Regions from separate parts of the Homo sapiens genome. Here regions 2 and 3 are each linked to region 1. The links are contacts of gene promoters, found by promoter capture Hi-C in blood cells and fetal thymus (Javierre and others, 2016). All regions are on one chromosome and are shown on one strand. Each heading gives the region's core, a stretch centred on a gene start or on the middle of the fragment in contact. The rest is flanking DNA. Distances are from core to core; before and after follow the strand shown. Region 1 holds the start of PDE4B-AS1 (PDE4B antisense RNA 1). Region 2 has its middle 67 kb from the start of SGIP1. Region 3 has its middle 28 kb from the start of SGIP1.

Region 1 (3,090 bases), core at 183-2,682:
AATCTCTGAATGTTACAACTGTCAGGTCAGTTACCCTCATGGATTTCATACATTTCCCATGCCTGGTTGTTGGCAGAGGGAAAAGAGTGGGAGTGTGGTGTCTGTGTTAGTATTGCCAGCTGATGGGCTTTAAAACAGGAGTAGTATGGTTTGAGTAACAAAAATACCTTCTTAGGATGCCTCACCAAATAATAGAGGGTGCTGAAGAGAGTATCTAAGTAAGAGACCTGGCTATTTCTGGAGGTTTTTCAACTAGACCTACGTTTAATATTTAAAAACATGAAAACTCATGTAATTAACATGTAACTTATTTGTATTAAAATTAGTATGCTGACATGATATTTTCTAAAACTGGGCCACATATGCATGGATTTCCTAAATAATCCTTCAAGAGAATAGAGCAGGAAATGAAGTGATATGCCCATTTGCAGTGTGGTATGGGGCTTCCTGAATGTATAAATGTGGAAGGCAGCAAGGTGGGGTTGGATACCAGTAATGCCAAGAACTTAATTTCAGCATTTCAACCACCGTGTACATCCTCAAAATGCCTTTCACTTTAATTTTGTATAAATACGAATTGGATCCCGGGTTACCTTTTGCTTTAGAGATGAAAAAAATGTATTTACGTTTCCCACACAACTGCTAGGAATTAAAGTAGTGTGAAAACTCCACACAAATAAATAATACATTTAAAACTATTTTTAGAAGAATAATTCAAAAAGACAGTAGTTTTGGGACATAGGCAACAAAAAGTCCCTTTTACCTAGGTTTCTTTGATTCAGAGATTCAGCATACGGATTTATGGAGACAGATTATATCCTCAACAAATTAAAGAATACAGGATATACACTGTTGTCTAATATAATATGAGGAAACTTTAAAATTTATTTCCATGAATTCTATGTTCAATTGGAAATATATGTTCAATTGAGTATCAGTAGAAAAATCTATTGTTTTTACTAATGACTCAGCTGCTTAAATGATCTATTGTATCGGTGGCCAGTGGCAGGAAGGAGGCTCTGTGCAGTATTGTTGTAACCATGACATTAGTGACATCATTTAGCAGAAATAGAATTTGGGACATTTGGAAAACAAAGCAGTGGCCTCTTGGCTCAACTTTGTGAGAACCTAATAAATTCTAAGAAAGTATAATGGACAGTGTTGATTTCTCCATATATATTTAGTGATTTTACATGTATGCACACACACACACCTACATACATAAAGTATTTCATTTAAATTTACCTACTAATGTATGATATTCGCAATGCCGTATAGACTTTGGGAAGAATGTTAATCTTGTATTGCAAAGCCATGCTCTACTTTAAAAGCAATGCCTCCAGATGTACAGCATACTTAACAGGGCCAAGAAAACATGTAACGTTGATTCTGTTCTGAGATACACCTTTGTTAAAAAGAATCCCTTCAGTTTTTCCTGTCTGACTAAAAATGATGAAAGGCAGGGTATCCTGAATGGCTGTGTTAGAACATCGAGGTATTGGAGATCCGTGAAGGAGCATCATCGTTACTATAGAAACAAATGCTGCCCCTGTCATGGACATCCAAAGGACAGACTGAAAAATGAGGAAGGGAAAAGCAATGGGAGGAAGAGGTGCCATGAAATGAGAATAAAGAAACTACACAGGAAGGACTGAATTAAGAAAAGAACAGCCTGAGGCAGAGTGAGGAATCTAGACACAGAAAATTCCCAATGGAAATGTAAAAAACTGGATCACCACTTGTGTGGGTACAAAGAAATGATGACTTTTCTGTTTTTAAAAGTTAAATTTTCTTCTAAAGTATAAGTATGTTTTTGCCTTTGGAACAACTTTTTGTATCCTGAAGTCTCTCTTATGGCACATGTATACATATGTAACAAACCTGCACGTTGTGCACATGTACCCTAAAACTTAAAGTATAATAATAATAAAATTAAAAAAAATTAAATTTGAAAGAAAACAAAATAAGTGAAAGTATTGAAGATTGTGATAGAAAATGTGTTTGAATAATGAGTATTAGAATCTGTGACAAGTCACTCGACCTCACCTTAAAATAGGGAAACTAATAGCAACCTCATGATTATTGGGTCAGTATAGGAGAGAACCAAATTCAAACCCTGCTCCATGGAGTGAACATTTCTATTTTGGGGGAAAGATTAGGGAACGGAATCTGGGAATATAAATTATTCATTTTAGTATTTCAGAATGAAGAGAAAAGAGAAGATTTCTTTTCCTTTATTCCTCTCGCTGAAAAAGAATAATTTGTTCATGTTTGAAGACTGTGAACAGAGGTAGAAAACATTTATTATATATATGTAAATATATAATTAGATGACAGTTTACAAAGTGAATGAATAGATGCTATTAAAATGCTACTTTTGACCTTCAAAAACATCTCAAATAGGGTTGATATTATTTGGTTATTTGCTGATTTGGATAAATTGCCAAGCAGAATTTTATATCAAGAATAGAAGATATAACGTTTTTCTATAACATTTGATATGTTTTCTGGAAATGTTTACTTATAGATTATTATCACTCATGTATTGTGGTAGACAAGGTGATGTAGCATCCAGATACCTCTTAAAAGAAACACTTCCCAGCTCCTGCCTTTTTATCCAAAGTCATACTATTCACTCCTTAGGGCAGCCTACTTTCATAGCTGATGAAGGTTGGGGTATAAAGGTATGGCCATCTTCTGAGGTTCTGTTGGGTTTACCAAGGTGGTGGGGCCTGCATTGAAGCTCAGCTTTTCTTCTGCCAGTCCTGCTTCTTCCTCATCCCTTTCATGTTGTTGAGTCCAACAAGACAGTTCTTAATAAACATCCTGCATGCTAAACTTCAATTCACAGTCTGATTTCTAGAGAATACAACTGGCATCATATACTTTACTATTACAAGTAAAATATCATATGGATAAATATTTTCTATTTGAAATGTCCGTAAAGTTTTACTTTTAAAATCAGTTTTCACATGTATGCATAGCTTCAGATTACCTGTACTATCCTTTAAAAATTCACAAAGAAAGCTAAAAATGCTTGCAAAAATTGTTAGCTCATGTTTTATATGCAGAATCTTAGTGACTAAGGAA
Region 2 (2,701 bases), core at 116-2,615, 420 kb after region 1:
GCAGTACTGAAAAAAAGAGGTAGAGTCTTGGGTATACTTGAGATTCCTGTGGATGGCACCAAGAAAGGTATTTGGGCTTAACCTGAGGCATCTGCTGAATCAGGGAGCCAAAGCAGGAGGGAGCAACTTTTTGGGGACCCAGGGGATGGTTAAATTGAATACAAGCCAGATTTCCCAAATCATAGTATTGTGCAGAGGAGAGATGTCCTATAGCCTAGAGAGAGGATTTGAATGTCTGCTGTACCTAACACTAGGTATGTTCTATTGCAGATGCACAGTAAATATTTACAAAAGGAAGCTAGGAAAGAAATAAGTTAGCTGGTTAGTTCTTTCTCTATAGTACTTTGCATGGTCCCTGTGTAATTCTTTTAGAAAGATGAAGATAATAAATGCACTATGCCTAGGCTCCTACTACTCCTCTTCACCACACTGTAGCTTCTAAACACATTCTTTCTCCTCCCTCCTCATGCCTTTCTACTCCTTTATGCACACCTGGAACTCCTGATGTATCAAACCTGCTTGCTGCTCCAGCAGTACAACATGTCCTCTCACACGCACACCAGGGCCTGAGCCCTAAATGCTGAACCCCTGGTATGTCTGGAAAATCCCTCCTCCTCTATCGAAACGAGATCTTGAAGTATTCCCTAACCTTCCCATATAAGATTTCCAGGACACCCAGTGCATTTCTTTTCATTATTTGTTATTTACTCCCTGACTCATGTTTAGCTGAAGTCTCATATAATCCAAATTTGCTACTTTTCTTACCTTGAATTAGCACAATTTACTATTTTCTGTATTAGTTTCCAGAGAACATTTTTCCATTGCTCTCTTCCTAATTCTCTGTCGTGACAAAGTTCTTTGGAATTCAAGTTGCATTCTCCAGGGTGTTATCTACTTTTTTCATTCTGGAAAAATGTTGACAGAACTGCCCATACAGAAAAAACCACCATCATTCTCAGCAAACTATCACAAGGACAAAAAACCAAACACCGCATGTTCTCACTTATAGGTGGGAATTGAACAATGAGAACACATGGACACAGGAAGGGGAACATCACACTCTGGGGACTGTTGTGGGGTGGGGGGAGGGGGAAGGGATAGCATTTGGAGATATACCCGATGCTAAATGACGAGTTACTGGGTGCAGCACACCAACATGGCACATGTATACATATGTAACAAACCTGCACATTGTGCACATGTACCCTAAAACTTAAAGTATAATAATAATAAAATAAAATTAAATTAAATTAAAAAAAGAAAAAAGCCTGTTATTTTTATAAATAGGAAGGGTCTTAAAGATTATCTAATCAACATCCTTGTTTCAATGATAAGGAATTTGAGGTCATCAGAAGTGAAATGACTTCTCTATGTTTGTGGAATTACTTTATAGTAAAACCAAAACACAAACTCTGATATTGCAATAGACAGTAAAGTATTGCTGTTTTGTCTAAGACAAAGCAAAATGAAGCATCTTAACTGAGCTCATTCATAATTCCATATTGAAAACACCAAATGTGCCCTGAGTGATCTTCACAATCATTTCAGAACCTCTGGCCATGGCTTTGAATGTAGGGTATTTCAAGCCAATGGAATACATGGCAGGACCATAGCATGTATAATAAAAGAGAATCAACATGTAAAAATACACCTAGTAAAAAATATCATACACTCCCTGTACCTTTCTCAGATTTTGGCATTCTTAAAACTGAGAAGGACTTCATAGGTTACTCAGAGAAGTGACTTCTATATGTCAAGCATTTTAGCAGACTATTGACATACCAGACCTTATTTACTCATCACAAAACAAACTCATTGAGGAAAGTGTTACCTCTATTTTTAAAATGCTAGGACTTGAGGCCGGGCTTGGTAGCTCATGCCTGTTATCCCAGCACTTTGGGAGGCTGAGGTGGGCGGATCTCCTGAGGTCAGGAGTTTGAGACCAGCCTGACCAACATGGCGAAACCCTGTCTCTACTAAAAATACAAAAATTAGCTGGGCATGGTGGCAGATGCCTGTAATCCCAGCTACTAGGGGGGCTGAGGCAGGGACAATCACTTGAATCCAGAAGGCAGAGGTTGCAGTGAGCCTAGATTGTGCCATTGCACTCAAGCCTGGACAACATAGTGAGACTCCATTTCAAAAAGAAAAAAAAATTGCCAAGACTTGGATTCAGATAAGATAAATGCCTTCCTCAAATTTCTAGCCAAGTAATTATGGAGCTGGTGTACAAACTCAGGTGTGTCCAACTTCAACACCTTCTTAACCCTTTGCTCCTAATCAGATTTACTCCCTCTAATCACAGGATTCTTTACAGATTACATGAAGTGAAGTTCCCAGCTTCAGCTGGAAAATCTCAGTCTGGGGTGGATTTTGTTTTGAGAAGCAGCTCTCTTTCTATAGTTGAAAATTCTGGGTTTTCTTCCTAATTTTAGATTCCCAAATTTGCCTACCAGAAACTTCCACTGAGTCTTTATGCAGACTTTTGGAGCAAACCTAACCAAGCTAATTCTTTGTGAGGACACTTCTAAACTTCTTCCATTGTTCCTTGAGCTTGATTTTGTTCTGTAACTAACTAATTGAAATTAGGTAACTGTGAGTCTTCATTTCTTCAGGGAAAACATCCAGTGTTCACTCAACTATTATCGGTAAACTTTTCTTCCTAGGCTCATTCCTGGATGGCATTTCTTGTACTTTATAT
Region 3 (2,944 bases), core at 392-2,891, 460 kb after region 1:
TCTAGAATTTTGAGACAGCAATAACAGAGCATTAAGCCAAGCAAAGGACCCCTTGAGCTATAGGGTGTTTTGTTACTCCATGGTTGCATGCCCATAAAGCATCTCTCTCCATTTTCACTCATAGAGAAACAGGATTTGGTTCTTATTATTAAACCAAAAGATCTCTTATGTATGATCTTTAGTCAGTAAAACTTAGTTTCAGTTTGGTGTTTTGCTGGAAGACATATCCGGACAGTCAGTTTCCTTCCACTGGGTGTTTTTTTTTTCTTTCTGTAAACAAACTTTATTTGCATTCTCTTATTAACATTAAAGGTTTACTGAGTTTAGTAAGAATAAAAACTCTCTGTAAATGTAATTACTTTTAGAATTTATTTCCTTTTAAAAGTGTTCCTAAAGGAATTCCTGAAACACATCAAATTTTTCAGATCGTTACCTCTGAGGAAAGGCAGAAGTGATGAGAATTTTGGAGGAGAACATGGGAGAAGAGCTTCGACTCTACCTATAATATTTTATTTCCAAATCTAAATACATATTAAAATTCAATAAAGCTGGGTGGTAGGCATACATATAATATATTCAACTCTGTAAGCTTCTGCCTTTGCAATTTTTTATGATAAAAGTATTTCCAAAAATCCTAAACTAATTATGGTCTTTAAATATAATTTGGGGGAGTTAAAAAAAGAATCTGAATTTAAGTTCTGCCATGCAGTGTGGCTGCATGAACTTGGCCACGTTCCTTTAACTCCTTGAGCTTCCATTCTCTTATAAATTGAGAGGGTTGAACATATAATCTTTAAAGCCCCTTTTAGGCTATTAATCTTTACTTCCATGAAACAAACAATATATTTAGAACATAATTTGATATAAGTTACAATTTCTCAATGTGCATAATTAATTGTGAAGTGGTGGGGCAGTGGGGTAAAACTTGGTAAACCTAAAGTCTAACTGAAAAGAGAATACAGTATGTGGGTATTTTTCCTTCTCTCAACTTTGCTTTTAAGAGAAACAGGCTAACCATGAAAACAAAAACAAACAAACAAAAACACATCAAAAGCCTCATGTCAAATATTCAGAAGTTTCCATTTTTTTGTTGTTATTGTTGTTGTTGTTTGTGGTTTTTTGTTTGTTTGTTTTAGAGACGGAGTCTTGCTCTGTTGCTCAGGCTGGAGTGCAATGATGCAATCTTGGCTCACTGCAACCTCCGCGGTTCAAGTGAATCTCCTGCCTCAGCCTCCCAAGTAGCTGGGATTATAGGCACCCATCACCACGCCTGGCTAATTTTTGTATTTTTAGTAGAGATGGGGTTTCACCATGTTGACCAGGCTGGTCTTGAACTCCTGACTTCAAGGGATCTGCCCGCCTCAGCCTCCGGAAGTGCTGGGATTACAGGCGTGAGCCACCTCGCCCAGCCTATTTCAATTTTTAAGGTAGAAAATTTGAAACTTTCAGCTGCGTGTGGTGGCATGTGCCTGTATTCCCAGCTACTTGGGAAGCTGCAACGGAAAGATTGCTTGAGCCTAGGAGTTTGAGGCTGCAGTGAGCTATGACCATGATGCTGCACTTCAGCCAGGGCAACAGAGCAAACTTAAAACAACCTTTGCAAAGATTATGACAGTGAAAGAAGTCTAGCACAGCTGACTCCACAGGCTGGCTTCTAGCCCCACAGGCTGGCTGTCCTCACTCATTCCTGGGTGTAGGCCAAGCTAACCATGGGAGGAATTTAGTTTATAGTTTAACTTTAATGTAAGGATGATTGATAATAGTCCCTTACTAAAACTGATCCCCTCCTGTTCAGGAATGGAAACCACCTTTGTCTGAATTTTTGGCATGAAAGAACAATGATTAGAATTACGGGAGGGGCCTGAATTCTGCTAAAATGTAGGTGTAGCTAAACAATAACCAGCCATTGTCCCTAGCTTGTTTTTCTATAATCTCTTAATGCTCAGGAATCATATGGCCAGAAGTCACAAGATTTGTGACTTTGCCAATTTCTCCTATAGATAACATCACTATTGTAAAACTTAAGATTGGTCTTTTGAGATATTTTTCAGACTTTTGCATTCTGGCAACTCACCCGACTGAGACCAGTGACTCATGACTCAGCTGGTCCTGTGTTTCCCACCCAGAGGTGGACTCAGCGCATGAGGACCATCCGTTTTCCACATTCCTATGATTTCATCACCAACCAATCAGCAGCACCCATCCTCTAGCTCCAAATTGCCCATAAAAGCCCTAGCCTCTGAGTTCTCGAAGAGGCTGATTTGAGTAATAATAAACTCCTATTCTACCACTTGGCTGGCTTTGCATTAATTAAACTCTACTGCAATAATGCTATCTCAGTGAATTGGGCTTATCTATGCCACAGGCAAGAAGAATCTGTCATATGATTACAAGACCATGTTAAAAAAAAAAAGAAAGAAAATTTGAAACCTCTATTTCCAAATATTAGGAACTTGGAAAAATATGCACAAAGCTAGGATTTCTAGTAAGGTGGGGTTCATATACTTTCCTGATACACTTTCCTGATACAGTTTTCCGTGTCAAGAGAGATAAGTCACTAGGTGATAAGCTAGATGTGATTAGGAGGGGGTGGTGAAGACTGTGACAAACTAGAAAGAGTATGTCCTAATTGGATAGTCAGCATTTAGCTTTAGTTTATTATTCCCATGTGTCAGTTTGAGGCTGACATTAACAAAGCTTCCCATTTTCCAAAAGAAGACCCAGAAACCAGAAGATACAGAAACCTGGACTTTTGGATATTTTTCGTAGTTTTTATTTGTTGGTAAATCATGCAGATCTTTTCTTAGAAGTGAGTTGTCTATCAGATAAAAACATCAAAGGGCTCAATTTAATTCATACTATTAATGTTTTACTGACTTCTGGGCTTAAGTGTGTTTGTTGGTTATGTTCTGTTTTGAGGTTTTCAGTAACATTATTATCATGT

Evidence for each region. Contacts are between HindIII fragments. The CHiCAGO score rates a contact against its expected background, and 5 or more counts as called.
Region 2: a contact is called between a fragment that was not itself captured here and the fragment with the promoter of PDE4B-AS1 in region 1, in 6 of 17 cell types (naive CD8 T cells, total CD4 T cells, naive B cells and 3 more). The highest score is 8.0, in naive CD8 T cells.
Region 3: a fragment that was not itself captured here is called in contact with the fragment with the promoter of PDE4B-AS1 in region 1 in 2 of 17 cell types (total CD4 T cells and total CD8 T cells); the score reaches 5.3 in total CD4 T cells.

The regions. Positions count from the first base shown.
Region 1 is chr1:66,049,286-66,052,375 of GRCh38, forward strand. It overlaps PDE4B-AS1 (PDE4B antisense RNA 1), which reads right to left and starts at 1,433. Exons shown (of 3, transcript NR_123718.1): 1 at 1,246-1,433. The region is part of intron 3 of PDE4B (phosphodiesterase 4B); the gene reads left to right. The HindIII fragment of the contact is 6,978 bases long and covers 1-3,090 here.
Region 2 is chr1:66,466,018-66,468,718 of GRCh38, forward strand. No RefSeq gene overlaps it. Among named protein-coding and RNA genes, the nearest start is that of SGIP1, 67 kb to the right of the region's middle. The HindIII fragment of the contact is 3,391 bases long and covers 1-2,701 here.
Region 3 is chr1:66,504,194-66,507,137 of GRCh38, forward strand. No RefSeq gene overlaps it. Among named protein-coding and RNA genes, the nearest start is that of SGIP1, 28 kb to the right of the region's middle. The HindIII fragment of the contact is 2,108 bases long and covers 588-2,695 here.